Linked DNA regions of Homo sapiens: region 1 is linked to region 2. Evidence: promoter capture Hi-C in 16 types of primary human blood cells and fetal thymus (Javierre and others, 2016). All regions are on one chromosome and are shown on one strand. The core of a region is centred on a gene start or on the middle of the fragment in contact, and the rest is flanking DNA. Distances in the headings are between cores, read along the strand shown. Region 1 overlaps SHANK1 (SH3 and multiple ankyrin repeat domains 1). Region 2 holds the start of GPR32 (G protein-coupled receptor 32).

Region 1 (2,969 bases), core at 440-2,939, 72 kb before region 2:
GACAGACGCACATGCATGCACACACGTTAATGTGCGAGTACACACGCACAGTGACATGCACAGAGAGGGACGGATGTGTGCAGAGACCCACCTGTCCATGTGTGTGAGCAGACTCACTGACATGCCCTGTGGTGCTTGCCCACGGATTCAGAGAAGCACAGATGTGCAGAGCCAGCCCCACAGTCATCATAGCCACAAAGGCACCAGTATATACAGAGCAGGGCAGACCCTCCAGCCCCGGGCATAGGTACAGGTACATCCAGGCCACACATGCACACAGATGCGTGTCATGCACACCTACAGAGACACACGTTCACACACCAAGAAACCTCAGCTCTGGTCGTGCACACACGTTCACACGCCCCCCAGGCACCCCGTCCTTCCCCTCCTGACCCCATCCCCTCCCTGCCCCTCGCCTCTCACCTCCCTGGGCCAATCCCATCCATTAAGCTTCCGAAGCAAGTCAGCCAGCAGCCAGGGAGGGGAAAGGTGTCAGTGCACCCATCTCCTCACCCCAATCCCACCCAGCCCTGACTGCACCCTCCCCACACCGGTGCATGGGACACACACATTCCCACTGCACATGACTGCACAGAGATGGGGCACATGAAGGAGACAAGGGCCTCCAGCCAGCCAGACATAAGAGCGCCCCGGCCCCCCCAGGCATCCCCACCCTGCCCTGACCACCCCGTTGTCTCTGGCTACCCCAGAGCTGGGCAGTCTTAGTGGCTGCCGAAGATGGTTTGGGGTTGGGCTGTACTGTCTGAAGCTAATTCTGGCTTATCCCACCCCTGGATCAAACTTGAGAAGGAACAGATTAGAAAGGGGGCTTAGAGGTGATGGAAATATTTAAAGGTGTACATTGTGAAGGGAACTTGGGGTGAGGGGGGTTGCCCGAGGGTGTAAGGACATTTACCTTGGGGCATCAAAGCTGTCGTAGGAGCCCACGGTATAATGCCGGAAGAGTCTCTTTGCCTTGTCACTGCGGCTTTCTGCAGGGTGACAACAGACAACCTTGGACTCTTGTTTTGGAAACCACAATCCCAGCCCTAGAGCTCCTGGCCCAAGTCTTCCCATCTACCTCCCAGTACCCCACCCCCATTAGGAAGGGAAAGGAGTGGACGTGGGAATCCTAGGGTCCATTGAACACTGCTGGGGGTTCCGCATTACCTTGCTTGCTCTCCTGAGAGCGATTCGCCACTTCTTCCAGGCAGTCAGAGGGGAACCAGCCAACACGACCTTTGACCTGGCCTTCCCAGAAGCCTCCTTCCCCGATGCTAAGTACTGGATGGGGAACGGGGACATAGAGACATTTCTGTGTTTCTGTGCTGCCCCTCAACTGCCAACACACTCAACTTAGAGCATTCCCACAGTTACCAGCTCCTGGCCCAAGGCCATCCTTAATAAACATCTGAGGAAGGGGCGAGGAGCTTGGGGGAGACCCATATCATATCACTCTTGCATTCTAGTTTCTGGATCCAATAAGGATGACAGGCATTGGGGAAGACGACTGTTCCATAACATGGTCTTCCTAGGTTAGAGGCAGGTCCACAATTGGTCCTTGTCTCCCCTGGTAACTGGTCACAGCTCAGTTGTGTAATTCCCCTTCACCCTCCTAGGCTCTGTGGACTTAGATCACGGATGGGGCGACAAGTTCTACCTCACCCTCCCATCACTGTCCCTGCCACCTCCCAAAGTCTCCTTGCCACTTAATCTTTAGTCCTTTGTCCCCAGACCCCTGTCTCTGTCTCTCTCGGCCTCTCCTGGCTCTAGAAGGGAAAAGAGATTAGCATCACCTCTTTCCTTCTCTCCCTCTCCCCTAATGGAAGCGGCTTCCCCCTGCCCACCCTCCCAGGCCCCACCGCTTCCCCATTTAGCAAACATCACAGACTGCCTGTTACATGCCTGCTGCTGAAAAACAGAGATATATGACAAGAACAGCTAATGCGTATCCAACTCTCACCTGGGCCAGAACCCTAAGAGGGGCCACTTTCATTATCCCCCTTTTACTGATAGGAACACTGAGGCTTGGAGAGCCAAGATCATTTGCTGAAGGTTACAAGGCTAGTAACTGACAGATCTGGATTTGAACACAGCTCAGTCTGCTTCCAGAGGGCATACTTTCAGTCACTCATGTGCGCTACCTCTCCATGCAACGGCTTCAGTGCATGACAAGGGCACCAGTGGCAAACACATGGTCTTCCATTTCTCCGGCATTTTTCATGACTCTGCCCCCATTCAGCCCTTCACATAGTTTCCTTCCTCGTTCAACCCTTGTGCCTACCCAGGTAGGTAACAACTGTTTTTCCATTTTATAGACAAAGAAGCTGAAGCGAATGTGGAGAAAACCCTTGCCTGGAGATGGCTCCAGCTATGCTAGGGGTTGAGTTGGGGCCATCAGATGTATTCCCCTCCACAAACTGCCTCCCTTGAGAGCATCTGGGGAGACCAAATGAGGGGAAGCTGAAAGTCATGGAAGAGAGCAGGAGATGGGTTGTCAAGGGGACTGGGTTCTTGGCTGGTACTGCCATGCCTGGCTTGGTGGTCTTGTAATCAATCATTTGTTCACTGTAAAAATATTTAGTTAGTGCCAGTCATGAGTCAGGTACCAGGGTAGACACTGTTGAATATAATCAATGTTGTTCCTTCCTTTGAGGAGCTTCCAGAGCAGTGGCCAATAGAGGCATAACTATACAAGTGACTGTATGATTGGAAGTTGGGGTCAGAGCTCAAGGGAAAATAAGAGGGTGTTTGGAGAGAAGCCAGATGGGAGTATATAACTTATAATGGCAAAGGGGTCCAGGGAGGTGTCCCTGAGGTGTGACACATAGGTTGAGACCTGAAGGATCCTAGGAGCTGGGGAGGCAAAGAGAGCATGGAAGAGTTCCAGGCAGAAGGACCAGCATGTTTGAAGAGTTTGGTGTACAAGAAAGCTTGGGACATTGGAGGAATGGAGGGGTTGGTATATC
Region 2 (3,016 bases), core at 363-2,862:
GTCTCCCAATTTGCTGGGACTACAGGCACGTGCCACCATACCTGACTAATTTTTTTTTTTTTTTTTTTTGAGACAGAGTCTTGCTCTGTTGCCTGGGCTGGAATGAAGTGGCACGATCTTGGCTCACTGCAGCCCCTGCCTCCCAGGTTCAAGGGACTCTCCTGCCTCAGCCTTCAGAGTAGCTGGGATTACAGGCACGCACCACCAAGCCTGGCTAATTTTTGTATTTTTAGTAGAGACAGGCTTTTGCCATGTTGGCCAGGCTGGTCTCGAACTCCTGAACTTAAGTGATCCACCAGCCTCAGCCTCCCAAAGTGCTGGGATTACAGGAATGAGCCACTACGCCCATCTCACGGCTAATTTTTAAATTTTATTTTATTTTTATTTTTTTGAGACGGAGTTTCGCTCTCGTTACCCAGGCTGGAGTGCAGTGGCGCGATCTTGATTCACTGCAACCTCCGCCTCCCAAGTTTAAGTGATTCTTCAGCCTCATGAGTAGCTGGGATTACAGGTGGCTGCCACCACACCCAGCTAATGTTTTTTGTATTTTTAGTAGAGACGGGGTTTCGCCATGCTGGGCAGGCTGATCTCGAACTCCTGACCTCAGGTGATCCGCCTACCTCAGCCTCCCAAAGTGCTGGGATTACAGGCGTGAGCCACTGTGCATGGCCACAAAAACTTGTAATTATTTATTTTTTGTAGAGACGGTCTCACTATGTTGCCCACCTTGGTTTGGAACTCCTGGCTTCAAGCAATCCTTCTGCCTCAGCCTCCCAAAGTGTTGTGATTACAAGCATGAGCCACCACACCTGGCCCCTCCATTTCATTTATTATTTTTCCATAACACTTGTAGTCTTCTAAAGCAGTATATCATGAAGTAAATTTATTATATGTATTACACCTGACATCTCTCACTGGGATGTAAGTTCCATGAGGGCTTGTTTTGTTACACGAGTTATGTCCAGTACTTAGAACAATATTATAGTGTCCAGTGAGCCGAGATCGTGCCATTGCACTGCAGCCTGGGTGACATAAGGAGACTCTGTCTCAAAAAAAAAAAAAAAAAAAGAACAATATTATTGTGTCATAAAAAGCATTCAGGCTGGGCTCAATGGCTCACACTTGTAATCCCAGCACTTTGGGAGGCTGAGGTGGGAGGATCACTTGAAGCCAGGAGTTCAAGACCAGCCTGGGCAACACAGCAAAACCCCATCTCTACAAAAAAGAATTTAAGGCCTGGCAGAGTGGCTCACACCTATAATCCCAGCACTTTGGGAGGCTGGTGGACGGGTCACGAGGTCAGTAGTTCAAGACCAGCCTGGCCAACATGGTAAAACCCTGTCTCTACTAAAAACAGAAAAATTAGCCAGGTGTGGTGGCATGTGCCTGTAGTTCCAGCTACTTGGGAGGCTGAGGCAGGAAAATTGCTTGAACCTTGGAGGTGGAGGTTGCAGTGAGCCGAGATCATACCATTGCACTACAGCCTGGGTGACAGAGAGAGCAAGACTCTGTGTCAAAAAAAAAAAAAAAAAAAAAAGGTAAAAAAATTAGCCAGGCATGGTGGTAAGTGCCTGTAGTCCCAGCTACTCCAGGAGGCTGAGGGGGGAGGATCTCTTGAGCCTAGGAGGTGGAGGCTGCAGTGATCTGTGATTGTACCTTTGCACTCCAGCCTGGGTGACAGAGCATGACGCTGTCTCTAAAAGAATAATAATAATAAGCATTCCATAAAAATTATGGAATGGAGAAATCATGAATGGGGTCTCGGAGGGGACCAGAGGCTGCAGTGACAGGCAACCTGGGGTCCTGACACGTGATCGCTCTTGTTCCAGGAAGATGAACTCTTCCGGATGCCTGTCTGAGGAGGTGGGGTCCCTCCGCCCACTGACTGTGGTTATCCTGTCTGCGTCCATTGTCGTCGGAGTGCTGGGCAATGGGCTGGTGCTGTGGATGACTGTCTTCCGTATGGCACGCACGGTCTCCACCGTCTGCTTCTTCCACCTGGCCCTTGCCGATTTCATGCTCTCACTGTCTCTGCCCATTGCCATGTACTATATTGTCTCCAGGCAGTGGCTCCTCGGAGAGTGGGCCTGCAAACTCTACATCACCTTTGTGTTCCTCAGCTACTTTGCCAGTAACTGCCTCCTTGTCTTCATCTCTGTGGACCGTTGCATCTCTGTCCTCTACCCCGTCTGGGCCCTGAACCACCGCACTGTGCAGCGGGCGAGCTGGCTGGCCTTTGGGGTGTGGCTCCTGGCCGCCGCCTTGTGCTCTGCGCACCTGAAATTCCGGACAACCAGAAAATGGAATGGCTGTACGCACTGCTACTTGGCGTTCAACTCTGACAATGAGACTGCCCAGATTTGGATTGAAGGGGTCGTGGAGGGACACATTATAGGGACCATTGGCCACTTCCTGCTGGGCTTCCTGGGGCCCTTAGCAATCATAGGCACCTGCGCCCACCTCATCCGGGCCAAGCTCTTGCGGGAGGGCTGGGTCCATGCCAACCGGCCCAAGAGGCTGCTGCTGGTGCTGGTGAGCGCTTTCTTTATCTTCTGGTCCCCGTTTAACGTGGTGCTGTTGGTCCATCTGTGGCGACGGGTGATGCTCAAGGAAATCTACCACCCCCGGATGCTGCTCATCCTCCAGGCTAGCTTTGCCTTGGGCTGTGTCAACAGCAGCCTCAACCCCTTCCTCTACGTCTTCGTTGGCAGAGATTTCCAAGAAAAGTTTTTCCAGTCTTTGACTTCTGCCCTGGCGAGGGCGTTTGGAGAGGAGGAGTTTCTGTCATCCTGTCCCCGTGGCAACGCCCCCCGGGAATGATGGAAGACTTCAGCTGGAAGCTGGAAGCCGTCCTTCTTAGTTTGCTTGTGGCCTCTTACCTTGACTGGCTTCTAAAACCCTGCCAAATCCTGCCTCTTCTTTCAGGAAGTCTTCCAGCAACCCCTCATCTAAAGCTCTGTGGTAGAGACAGCTACTTACTCCCCAGTGTCCATTCTTCCCCGCCCCCCCCCCCTTT

What was found. The method cuts DNA at HindIII sites, captures the fragments that hold promoters and counts their contacts. A CHiCAGO score of 5 or more calls a contact.
Region 1: a contact is called between a fragment that was not itself captured here and the fragment with the promoter of GPR32 in region 2, in 4 of 17 cell types (megakaryocytes, endothelial precursors, erythroblasts and 1 more). The highest score is 7.9, in megakaryocytes.

Annotation. Positions count from the first base shown.
Region 1 is chr19:50,696,673-50,699,641 of GRCh38, forward strand. It overlaps SHANK1 (SH3 and multiple ankyrin repeat domains 1), which reads right to left. Exons shown (of 24, transcript NM_016148.5): 13 at 1,171-1,284; 14 at 917-992; 15 at 424-450. Among named protein-coding and RNA genes, the nearest start is that of SHANK1, 22 kb to the right of the region's middle. The HindIII fragment of the contact is 2,483 bases long and covers 449-2,931 here.
Region 2 is chr19:50,768,852-50,771,867 of GRCh38, forward strand. It overlaps GPR32 (G protein-coupled receptor 32), which reads left to right and starts at 1,613. Exons shown (of 1, transcript NM_001506.2): 1 at 1,613-2,881. The coding sequence starts at 1,750. The coding sequence ends at 2,820. The HindIII fragment of the contact is 17,473 bases long and covers 1-3,016 here.